Linked DNA regions of Homo sapiens: region 1 is linked to region 2. Evidence: promoter capture Hi-C in human tissues and cell types (Jung and others, 2019). All regions are on one chromosome and are shown on one strand. Each heading gives the region's core, a stretch centred on a gene start or on the middle of the fragment in contact. The rest is flanking DNA. Distances are from core to core; before and after follow the strand shown.

The links. Contacts are between HindIII fragments. The study calls those that stand out against the background at their distance.
Region 1: a contact is called between a fragment that was not itself captured here and the fragment with the promoter of SEC24A in region 2, in 1 of the 25 tissues and cell types used here (mesenchymal stem cells).

What each region holds. Positions count from the first base shown.
Region 1 is chr5:134,339,596-134,346,011 of GRCh38, reverse strand. All of the region lies in intron 4 of CDKL3 (cyclin dependent kinase like 3), which reads left to right. Among named protein-coding and RNA genes, the nearest start is that of CDKL3, 24 kb to the left of the region's middle. RefSeq lists enhancers at 1-258, 259-957. The HindIII fragment of the contact is 9,284 bases long and covers 1-6,302 here.
Region 2 is chr5:134,644,376-134,650,798 of GRCh38, reverse strand. SEC24A (SEC24 homolog A, COPII component) reads right to left here and starts at 2,014. Exons shown (of 23, transcript NM_021982.3): 1 at 1,626-2,014. The coding sequence starts at 1,722. RefSeq lists enhancers at 1,829-2,366, 2,114-2,403, 2,414-2,473. The HindIII fragment of the contact is 35,050 bases long and covers 1-6,423 here.

The DNA of each region.
Region 1 (6,416 bases), core at 411-2,910, 300 kb after region 2:
GGAGAAGGTCAGAGAGATTTTGTTTCTGAGACCCTTCTAATCTCCTTCAGTTCAAAGTATGTATCATGCCAAAGCACCATACTTTCAGGTATCATAGTCTAAGCCTGGACACAATTGTTATTATTACTGAAGTTCAAAATCAGTGGGTGCTGTCAGGCCTCTGAGCCCAACCTAAGCCATCATATCCCCTGTGACCTGCACGGATACATCCAGATGGCCTGAAGTAATTGAAGAATCACAAAAGAAGTGAAAATGGCCTGTTCCTGCCTTAACTGATGACATTACCTTGTGAAATTCCTTCTCCTGGCTCATCCAGGCTCAAAAGCTCCCCCACTGAGCATCTTGTGTCCCCTGCCCCTGCCTGCCAAAGAACAACCCCCTTTGACTGTAATTTTCCACTACCTACCCAAATCACATAAAACAGCCCCACCCCATCTCCCTTTGCTGACTCTCTTTTCGGACTCAGCCCGCCTGCACCTAGGTGAAATAAACAGCCTTGTTGCTCACACAAAGCATGTTTGGTGGTCTCTTCACACGGACACGAGTGAAAGGTGCCTTTTCAAGGTGGCTTCCCAAGTCCTTTTAACAGGACCTAGTATGTAGTCTCTGATACTTTCCTTGTGACCTGACTGACAAGATAGCAGTCCAGGCTCATTTTTCACATGTTGTTGCCCCAGACCTGGTATCAGCCATATTATGTCTTTATTAAAAACAGCATTATTGAGATATTTTTATATAATACAGTTCATCCATCTGAAGTAAATTTCAGTGGTTTTTAGTGTATTCACAGATATGTACTACCATCACCAGTCAGTTTTCATCACCTCAGTAAAAACCCCATACCCTTTATCTATGACACCCCTATACCTCTGAACTCCCTCCCTAACCCTAAGCAATCACTACTCTCTTCTCTATCTTTATAGATTTTTATTTATTTTATTTTTTTTGAGACAGAGTCTCTCTCTGTCGCCCAGGCTGGAGTGCAGTGGCGTGATCTCGGCTCACTGCAACATCCGCCTCCTGGGTTCAAGCAATTCTCCTGCCTCAGCCTCCTGAGTAGCTGGGACTACAGGCGCATGGCACCACACCCGGCTAATTTTTTTTTGTATTTTTGTAGAGCTGGGGATTCACCATGTTGGTCAGGCTGGTCTCGAACTCCTGACCTCGTGATCGACCTGCCTCGGCCTCCCAAAGTGCTGAGATTACAGATGTGAGCCACTGCACCCAGCCTATGGCTGGCTTTTTTATTTTGTAGAGACAGGGTCTCGCTATTTTGACTAGGCTGATTTTGAATTCCTGGGCTTAAGTGATCCTCCCGCCTCAGCCTACCAATGTGTTAGGATGATAGGTGTGAGCCACCACGCTGAAGCCTGACTTTTTTATTCTAGCTACTCTAATGGGTGTGAAGTGGTATCTCATTGTGGGTTTGATTCACATTTCCCTAATGTCTACTGAGGTTGAATGTCTTTTTGTGTGTGCGTGTGCTTATTGGCCATTTGTATATTGTCCTTGGAGAAATGTCTGTTCAGATCCTTTGCCTATTTTTAAAATGAGTTGTCTTTTTATTATTGAGTTGTAAGAATTTTCTGCATATCCTAGATACAAATTCCTTATCAGATATGTGATTTACAAGTATGTTCTTCCATTTTATGGGTTGTGTCTTCACTTTCTTGATTCTGTCTTTTGATTTTCAAATGTTTTTAATTTTAAGAAGTCCAATTTATCTGTTTCTTTTGTTGCCTATGCTTTTGGTATCATATTTCAAAATTGTTTGCCAAATCCAGGGTTATGAAGATTTACAGTTACATTTTCTTCTAAGAGTTATAACTTTAGCTCTTACATTCAAGTCTGATCCATTTGAGTTAATTTTTGTATATGCTATAAGGTAAGAGTCCAAGTTCATTCTTTTGCATTTGGCTATCCAGTTGTTGTCCCAGCACCATTTGATGAAAATATTGTTCTTTCCCCATTATGGTGTTGGGCTCTTTTTGAAATTCAGTTGACTATAGATGTAAGTGTAACTGCTCAAGGGGTTCACCTTGCCCGCTGCCTAGACAGAGCCGATTCATCAAGACGGGAATTGCAATAGAGATAGAATAACTCACGCAGAGCCGGCGTGAGTGTGCAGGAGACTGGAGTTTTATTATTACTCAAATCAGTCTCCTTGGGCATTCAGGGAGCAGAGTTTTTAAGGACAACTTGGTGGGTAGAGGGAGGCCAGTGAGCTGGGAGTTCTGATTGATCAGGTTTGAAATCATAGGGAGTGGAAGCTGTCTTCTTGCACTGAATCACTTCCTGGGTCTGGGGCGGCCATGAGATCAGATAAGCCAGTTTAGCAATATGGGTGGTGCCAGCTGATCCATCAAGTACAGGGTTTGCAAAATATCTCAAGCACTGATCTTAGGAGCAGTTTATGGAGGGTCAGAATCTTGTAGCCTTCAGCTACATGACTCCTAAACCATAATTTCTAATCTTGTGGCTAATGTTAGTCCTACAAAGGCAATCTGGTCCCCAGGCAAGAAGGAAGTCTGCTTTGGGAAAGGGTTGTTACTGTCTTTGTGTTAAACTATAAACTATAAACGAAGTTTCTCCTGAAGTTAGTCCAGCCTACGCCCAGGAATGAACGAGGACAGCTTGGAGGTTAGAAGCAAGATGGAGTCAATTAAGTTAGATCTCCTTCACTGTCTCAGTCATAATTTTGCAAAGGTGGTTTCATAAGGGCTTATTTCTAGAATCTCAATTCTGTTCCATTGATCTGTAAGGCTGTCCTTTTTCCAGCAACGCACTTTCTTTCCTTTTTTTTTTTTTTGACAAGATCTCACTCTGTTGCCCAGGCTGGAGTGCAGTGGCATGATCTTGGCCCACAGCAACCTCCACCTTCCAGGCTCAAACAATCCTCCCACCTCAGCCTCCTGAGTAGTTGGGACTACAGGGGTGCACCACCAAGCCTGGCTAATTTTTAAATTTTTTGTAGAGACGGGATTTCACCACGTTGGCCCGGCTGGTCTTGAATGGCTGGGCTCAAGCAATCTGCCTGCCTTGGACTCCCAAAGCATTGGGATTACGGGCAGGAGCCACCGCACGCAGCCGACACACTGTCTTAATGACTATTGCTTTGTAGCAAGTTTGAAATCAGAAAGTGTGAGTCTTTCTACTTTATTTACTTTTCCAAGATTGTTTTGGCTATTCTAGGTCCCTTCCAATTCCATATGAATTTTAAGATCAGCTTCTCAATTTTTGCAAAACAGACATCTGAGATTCTGATATGGATTACATTGTATCTGTGGATTAGTTTGGAGGTTATTGCTGTCTTAAAAATGTTAACTCTTATTCTAATCTGTGAATTTAGAATGTTTTGCCATTTATTTAGATCTTCCATAAATTTTTCTTTTTCTTTTTCTTTTTTTTTTTTGAGACAGAGTCTTGCTCTGTCGCCCAGGCTGGAGTGCAGTGGCACAATCTCGGCTCACTGCAAGCTCCGCCTCCCAGGTTCACGCCATTCTCCTGCCTCAGCCTCCCGAGTAGCTGGGACTACAAGCGTCCGCCACTACGTCTGGCTAATTTTTTGTATTTTTTTAGTAGAGATGGGGTTTCACCGTGTTAGCCAGGATGGTCTCGATCTTCTGACCTCATGATCCACCTGCCTCGGCCTCCCAAAGTGCTGGGATTACAGGCGTGAGCCACCGCACCCGGCTTCCATAATTTTTTCAACAATGTTTTGTAGTTTTCAAAGCATACATTTTGCACTTGTTTTGTAAAATTTATTCTTAAGTATCTTATTCTTTTTGATGCTATCATGAATGGAGTTTTCTTAATTTGATTTCAAATTGTTCATTGCACGGGCATAAAAATACAACTTATTTTTGTATATTGAGTTCATATTGAAGTGGTGTCATTGTCTGGAGTAAATACCCAGGGTTCGTCATCTCGTGCCAAGGAGATGAAGGACATGGACATGCATGAGGAGTGAGTTTAGGAGCAGAGGTTTAATAGGCAAAAGAAAGAGAAAGGAGAACAGCTTTCTCCCTAGTGAGAAAGAGGGGCCTCCTAAAGCAAAATCTGGCCCGCAGCAGACTGCATTAGATTTTATAGGCAGGTTTGAGGAGATGGTGTCTGATTTATGTAGGGCCCACAGATTGGTTCGACCAGGTGTGACAGTTACATACTGCAAGGGGAAGGCTGGTTGCCCCACTCTAATCTTATTATGCAAATTGGATCTTTGCCTGGCTGGGGCCATATTGTCTTCTTACTCTACATGTGGTTTGGCAAAGAGAAGGGAAGATGGAGCCACCATTTTGAACATGCTTAGTCCCAGGTAGCCTTTTCCTGTTGGCACAACTGCTGGCATTCACCTGTGCAAGCTTACAGCTTGCGTGTCTGTGTCTGCAGCACAATTTTACAGGCTGCTTTTTGTTAGAAAAGAAAATGATTTGGGGCTGCTTTTCATTAAAAGGAAAACCTTACTGAGGATCCCGTACCCTCACTGCCTGCCTAAATAATTTCTTCTTAACTCATATCATTATCATGCAACTTTGCTGAACTTGTTTATTGGTTCTCATAGTAGTTTAGTGGATTCTTTAGGATTTTCTACATAGAAGATCATGTCATCTGTGAATAGATATAGTTTTACCTTTTTGCTGGTCTGGATGCCTTTTATTTCTTTTTCCTGTCTAATTGTGCTGAGTAGAATCTGCAGTACAATGTTGAACAGAAGTGGCAAGAGCAGACATCCTTGTCTTGTTCCTAATCTTATCGGGAAATCATTCAGTCTAAGTATGATATTAGATGATTTTTCATAGATGCCTTTTATCAGGTTGGGGAAGTTTCCTTTTATTCTTAGTTTGTTGAGTGCTTTTATCATGAAGGGGTGTTGGATTTTATCAAATGTTTTTTCTTTGTCTATTGAAATGATCAAAATGAGAAATTTTTTTGGTTTTTATTCTATTGATGTATTATATTACATTTATTGGTTTTTGGATATTGAACCAACCTTGTGTTCCTAGAATAAATCCCAGTTGGTCACAGTGCATAATTCCTTTTATATGATGCTGGATTCAGTTTGCTAGTATTTTGTTGAGAATTTTGTGTTCACATTCATAAAAGATATTTGTAGTTTTCTTTTTTACTGGTTTGGGTATCAGGGAAATACTGGTTTTAAAAAATGAGATGGGATGTGTTCCTTCTGTTTTTTGAAAGAGTTTGTGAAGACTTGGTATTAATTCTTCTTTAAATGATAGAATTCAGTAGTGACATCATCTAGGCCTGGGCTTTTCTTTGCGGGTAGTTTTTTAAAAAAATCATGAATTCAGTCTTTTCACTTGTTAAAAGTTTATTGAGATTGTCTATTTTTTATTGAGCCAGTTTCAGTAGTTTGTGTTTTTCTGGGAAGCTATTCATTTAATCTAAGTTATCTAATCTGTTGGCAAACAATTATGTATTCCTTTATAATCTTTTTAATTTCTGTAAAGTCAGTAGTAATGTCACCTCTTTCATTTCTGATTCTAATACTTTGAGTTTTCTCTCTTTTGCTCTTGGTCATTCTAACTAAATGTTTTTCAATTTTGTTGATTTACAAAAAAATAGCTTTTGGTTTCATTGATTTTCTCTGTTTTCTTATTCTCTATTTAATGAACTTTTGCTTTTTAAATATTTCCTTCTTTTTGTTTGCTTGGTTTAGTTTGCCCTTCTTTTTCCAGTGTCTTAAGGTGGAAGGTTAGGTTACTGATTTGATATCTTTCTTCATATAGGCATTACAGCTATACATTTCCCTCTCTGCTTTACTGCATCCCACAAATGCTGGTATGTTGTGTCTTCATTTTCATTAGTCTCAAAGGATTTTCTTTTTCTTTTTCTTTTTTGAGACAGGATCTTGCTCTGTTGCTCAGGCTGGAATGCAGTGGTGTGATCTCGGATCACTGCAGCCTTGACTTCCCCAGCTTAAGTGATCCTCCCACCTCAGCCTCCCGAGTAGCTGAGACTACAGGTGTGTGCCCTCATGCTTGGCTAATTTTGTTCATTTTTTTGCAGAGACGAGGTCTCACTGTGTTACCCAGGCTGGTCTCAAACTCCTGTACTCAAGTGACCCTCCTACCTCTCTGCTTCCCATAGTTTTGAGATTAAAGGAATGAGCTACTGTGCCCAGCCTCAAAGTATTTTCTGATTACCCTTTTGATTTCACCTTGTACCCATTGGTTATTTCGTCAAATGTAGTTTAATATCCACATATTTGTAAATTTCCAAAATTTTTCCTGCAATTAATATTTAATTTTATTCCATTGTAATAAGAGAATATACTTCGTGTAATTTCTGCCCTTTTAAATTTACTGAGGTTTATTTATGGTCCAGCACATGGGCTATCCTGGAGAATGTTCCATGTGACTTGAGAACAATATATAAATGTATATTCTATTGTTGTT
Region 2 (6,423 bases), core at 765-3,264:
CCGTCTCAAAAAACAAACAAACAAACAAACAAACAAAAAACCCTGTAGAAATGGAACTTATAAAAAGACTATGAAAATTATATTTTAAAAAAGAGGTCTGGGTACCGTGGATCAGGCCTGTAATTACAGCACTTTGGAAGGTTAAGGAGGCAGGAGAATCGCTTGAACCCAGGAATCAGAGGTTGCAGTGAGCCAAGATCACCACCACTGCACTCCAGCCTGGGCAACAGAACAAGACTCCATCTCAAAAAAAAAAAAAAAGATGTGGAACAAATGTCTGTTGGACTGTATCAAATCAACATAGTGACAGTATCTCTAATACAGCATACCACAGTGGTCAAATCCCTTTAACATTTCAATATTATGACAACTACACTCATATATAAATGTTGAAGCACATTTGAGGATTTGTCATTTAAAGTTAATGTAAAACTGCAATTTATAGATTATAAGAAAAATCCATAGCCATGTAACATTTTTTCTCATCCTCAGTGTAAATGTTACTAAATATTCTAGAATAAAATGTAGTGTACATAATCTGTTACCATAATTTTGAGAAAGAATGGTTAACTCAGTACCCTTTCAGTGGCTTTCCTCCACTTATTCTTTCTTCTGCCCACATAGTTGCCTACTCACAGACATTTTTAAAAGTCTTTTAGAGCCATCTTTGTAAAGAAAACAGCGGTCTTCTCTAAAAACAATGTAAATTAGAGATTTTAGTCACTGTCTGTATTCTCCAACTTCACAGAACTCTTAGACTCTAATGGGCAACTTAAGTTCTTTAGCATTATTCTACTAGTCTTATTTCTGTAAACCAAAGATTTGTAAGTAAATTGGTAAGTAGGCAATCTGTCGGCAGAAAGTCTTTGTCTATTGTAACAACTGAAATAATCTTAGCAAATCACAATGTAGGACGATTTAAGGAATCCTAGAAGAGGTATAAAATTATAAGACATTCTCACATCAAATGACAAACTATAATGTACATGTAGACTCTTGTCAGAGATTCAGAGAGTTGTGTCCACCCACTTTCCAAATGCTGTCCAGACATCTAGAAGTCAACCAGGAGATCCTCCCTTCTATTTGGTTTTTCCACAGCTGAAACATTGAACAGCTGTTGTAGGTACAATTCTGGGAAGGTTCTGGGAGAGATGAGTAGGCCCTAAAGGGGTGTCCCAAAAGCATGCATTCATCTCCAGAAACTCAGACTGAGTACGACCCCCACCCCACTTCAGGGCCTGCGGAACCCAGAAGAATCAGACCCCACATCCTGCTCTCTAGGAGACTGGGGTGAGGTGGCAAGGAAGGCGAAGGCACACAAACACTATGATCCTTATATTCGAGTTTTGAGGCATTTTCTCACCCGTGTTTCACCCAGGGCGTTGCATACAGCAGGTGCTCATTTACTGTTTTGGTGACCGACTAAATAAATGTGAAAGACTGAGACGAGCCTGGGGCTACAGGTGCACAACTGCCGTGGTCCCCTGGCCCAGCCGCCCACCACCATCCGCGCCAGAACCCGGTAAGGAGGTCACTCTCTCTATCTATGTCGCCTCAAGCAGCAGTGGCACGCAAAGGTCAGTCAGCCCTGGCCAGGCTGCGCCCTCCCCCCGGACAGCACTCACCGTTGGTGTAGGGAGACCCCGAGGCCAAGGCGGCTCCGTTCTGGGCCTGGAGGCTGGCTGGGGCGCCGCCGGAGGCCGGTATTCCCGGCTGGGACATGATGACTGGGTTGGAAGGGGCTGGTCGGGGTCGACAACAGCGCACAAGAAGAGAGCTGAAAGACCACTGCTGAAAGCGGAGGGAGGAGGCTAACGACTTAAGACTGAAGACTGGGAGAAGAGGGGGGGGCGCATTAAGCCCGAGGCATGGCGCCGCACTCTCCCCAGGCCACCGGCGGCCACAGCCTAGCCTGGGAGCTGAGGCTTGAGAGTCGGGCCGGCGGGGCCGCGAACGCCCGGCTAGAAGGCGGCAGCCAAACCTAGAGAGAAGGAGGGAGGCCCTGGCCGGAAGTGCCTGTCAGCCGCCGGCCGCGCAGCCGCAATCAGGACACGTGGCACTTCCGGCTCCGGGCTCGCAGCAGCCGCCGCCGCGCCGGCGAACTCTTCTCTGCCAGCCGGGCTGCCCCGAGGCCACCTGACAGCTCCTGGTGCCCCGACCCCGACGACCGTGCCCGGCCTCGCCGCCACGTCACCGACTCTCACGGCCGGCCGGAAGTGCCGTGTGTCACCGCTACGGAAATTCCCGCCGTTGTGAACGTGACCTCGCTCGCAGAGCCAGGATCGTGGGGCAATCTGAGATTCAGTAGCCGCTTTCGTGGGGTGGGACTGACAGTTCCTCTCCTCGGGTTTTGTGAAGATTACCTGAGACCATAGAAGTCATCGTCCTCTGTTGAGACCGTACCACCACTGGGAGCTGGGGCGGTTAATGTTCATCGCAGTATTTCATTCACATTTCGTCTTCGTGTTTCAGATGTAAATTATAAGGGGTTTTAAAAAGAGGTGGTTAAATATGTGTACATGTTAATAGTGTGATCAAGCCAAGAAGGAGGCCTTTGTCTTTGACTGGAGGACTCAGAGGAATTTTAATTTTGAAACTCGCTGATTCACAGCATAGTCACGCTCAAGTTCATTAGCACATTTAAATGGCAGTTTTGTTTCCTCTTCTAAGAGTTTACAGTAAGGTAAAGAACTCAAACTTCCTTTCAGAGCAAGTAGACTTTTTTTTTTTTTGCAAGTTGACTTTTTTGACTTTTGAAGCCAAAGGGAGGTCGAAACTGCGGTGATTGGACAACATAGTTAATTAATGATTGAGTAATCATCTTAGCTGCCTTCATTCTATTTAGGTTTTTCCTGCTCTGTGCTGACGATAAAGCCCTCCTTTACAGATTTGTACTGTGGATTAAAATGTCATGCCACGCGGTTTCGAAACCTCAGTGTGAAGTACATCTTACCTAATTCATTTAATACCAAATGCCTGCTATGAAGTGTTATATTACATACAAAAAAAAGCCAGATCTAAACCACTGTGTCGGGCTGGGCAAGGTGGCTCACTCCTGTAATCCAAGCACTTTGGGAGGCTGAGACAGAAGGATTACTTGAGGCCAGGAGTTTGAGACCAGTCTGGACAACAGGGAGAGTCCCCTTATCTCTATTTAAAAAATATATATATATATATATTTTTGAGACAGAGTCTTGGTCTGTTGCCCAGGCTGGAGTGCAGTGGTGCCATCTCCGCTCACTGCAACCTCCGCCTCCTGGGTTCAAGCAATTCTCCTGCCTCAGTCTCCCGAGTAGCTGGGATTACAGGCTCCTGCCACCATGCCTGGCTAATTTTTGTATTTTTAGTAGAGACAGGGTTTCACCATGTTGGCCAGGCTGGTCTTGAACACCTGACCTCAGTTGATCCACCCGCCTCAGCCTCCCAAAGTGCTGGGATTACAGGCGTAAGCCACCATGCCCAGCCAATGTTTTTAATTAAATAAATTTTTAAAAAGTGGCCAGTGTGGTGGCACATCCCTGTAGTCCCAGCTACTCAGGAGGCTGATGTGGGAGGATCACCTGAACCCAGGAGTTCGAGGCTACAGTGAGCTGTGATCTCACCACTGCACTCCAGCCTGCATGACAGAGTGAGATCTTGTCTCTAAGAAAAGAAAAAGAATAAACCACTGTGTCAGGCCTAAAAAAGGTCAGTAAAAATTCAAATAACTAAATACTAAATTTTATACTAACCCTGTTTTCATCATTTGCCTCAGAACTTTACTAAAAATGTATTTGCTCGGGCGTGGTAGCTTACAACTGTAATCCCAGCACTTTGGGAGGCCAAGGCGGGCGGATTACCTGAGGTCAGGAGTTCAAAACCAGCCTGGCCAACATGGTGAAACTCTGTCTCTACTGAAAATACAAAAATTAGCCAGGTGTGGTGGCACATGCCTGTAATCCCAGCTACTCAGGAGGATGAGGCAGGAGAATTGCTTGAACCCAGGAGACGGAGGTTGCTGTGAGCCAAGATTGTGCCACTGCACTCCAGCCTGGCTGACACAGCAAGACTGTCTCAAAAAATAAAAAATAAAAATAAATAAATATTTGCTGTAAGTAGCATTTAACAATTCAATTCCTTTGTACAAGATCCAAGTACAATAACTTTTTTTTTTTTTTTGAGACAGTCTGTTGTCCAGGCTGGAGTGCAGTGGTGCAGTCACAGCTCATTGCTGCCTCAACCTCCTGGGCTCAAGCAGTCCTCCAGCCTCAGCCTCCTGAGTAGCTGGAACTACAGGTGTGTGCCATTATGCCTGGCTAGGTTTTTATTTGTTTGTTTGTTTGTTTGTTTGTTTTTGTAAAGAGAAGGTCTTGCAAGAGATCCTCCTGCCTCATCCTTCCAAAATGAGATTACAGGTTTGAGCCACCACGCCCAGTTAAAATCTTAAGATGAAGATGATACTTTTGGTCAAATTGTTTACAGTTTGGAGCCACTATAACAAAATCCCAAGTTATAGATCCAAAAACACTTTAAAATTGCACAGACACAAGCCTCTCAATGTTTTGAAGAGGAAATAGAGCTCAGAGAGAAACAACCTTTCTGAGGTCAGACAAAATCAGGGTCACTCTTCAAAGAGGCAAATACCTGATCTCAAACCTGCATTAGTTTAATTATCTCTTTTTATTCAGCTCCTTTTGAATGATCTTGATTTGTTTTGACCTTGGCACAGTGGTTTGATTTGGTTAAATCAAGGTTTCTTTGAACTTTGTGCTATTTAAGCAGTATCTGTGTGTTCAGAGATTTTTTTTTTTTTTTTTTTTTGAGACGGAATCTCGCTCTGTCGTCAGGCTAGAGTGCAGTGGTGCGACCTTGGCTTGCTGCAACCTCTGCCTCCCGGGTTCAAGCTATTTAAGCAATATCTGTGTGTTCAGAGATTTATTTATTTATTTATTTATTTATTTATTTATTTTGAGACGGAATGTCGCTGTGTTGCCAGGCTGGAGTGCAGTGGTGCGATCTCGGCTCACTGCAACCTCTGCCTCCCGGGTTCAAGTGATTCTCCTGCCTCAGCCTCCCGAGTAGCTGGGACTACAGACGCATGTCACCATGCCCAGCTAATTTTTGTATTTTTACTAGGGACAGAGTTTCACCATGTTGACCAGGCTGGTCTTGAACTCATGACTTCAGGTGATCAACCTGCCTTGGCCTCCCAAAGTGCTGGGATTACAGGCCTGAGCCACCGTGCCTGGCCCCAGAGATTTTAAAAAGTAGTCTAGTTGGTTAAATCAGGTTAAATCAACATAAATAATTTTCTAATAAGTAAACAATGCTTTCTCTAAAATTTGTTCCACCCCTAAGTTGCTATGTTACTGTTCGTGTCCTCAAAGCAATGATTAAGTATTTCAAATGGTTTTTACACTCTCGGTGTAATCAGCACTACAGTATTGAGGAGAGCTGGGCATGGTGGCTCACGCCTATAATCCCAGGACTTTGGGAGGCCAAGGCAAGTGGATCCCCTAAGCCCAGGAGTTGGAGAACAGCCTGAGGAATATGGCAAAACTCCATCTCTACAAAAACATACAAAAAATTAGCTGGGCATGGTGACGTATGCCTGTAGTCCCAGCTGCTCAGAAGACTAAGATGGGAGGATCGCTTGAGCCTGGGAGGTTGATTGTGCTACTGGACTCCAGCCTAGGCAACAGAGTAAGACCCTGTCTCAGAATACATATATACATATATATAGAGAGAGAGAGACAGAAGAAAAACAGCATTTGTCATCTGCCTAACCTTTGGGATAGTAGGAAGGTAAGTTTAAGTAACTGAGATGGGACAACATATTTTAAAAGTTTTCATATTAAGTATTATCCACACAATATCAAATCATTTGATGACTCATTTAAGTGTGGCCACAGAAATATGAAAAAATTATTGGTGATAGCAATTATAACAATTGCTCTTGGCCAGGCGTTGTGGCTCACGCCTGTATTCCCAACACTTTGGTAGGCCAAGGTGGGTGGATCACTTGAGGTCAGGCATTCGAGAGCAGCCTGGCCAACATGATGAAACTCTGTCTCTACTAAAAATACAAAAATTAGCCAGGCATGGTGACGGGCGCCTGTAATCCCAGCTATTTGGGAGGCTGAGGCAGGGAAAATTGCTGAACCTGGGAGGCAGAGGTTGCAGTGAGCTGAGATCTTGCCACTGCACTCCAGCCTGGGCGACAGAGGGAGACTCTGTCTCAAAAAAAAAAAAAAAATGCTCTTACCAATTGTTATTGATATTTCTTTGTTCAATTACCTGTATGTACACTACACTACTATACATTTTTCTAAACTGATGTCAGTAATATATTCTACTTTTTTATCTTTATTGTCCAGAAAAACAGAATCCTTCTGCCATATATACAACCTTCATAAGGCCATTATATGATTTTCTGCATATTTT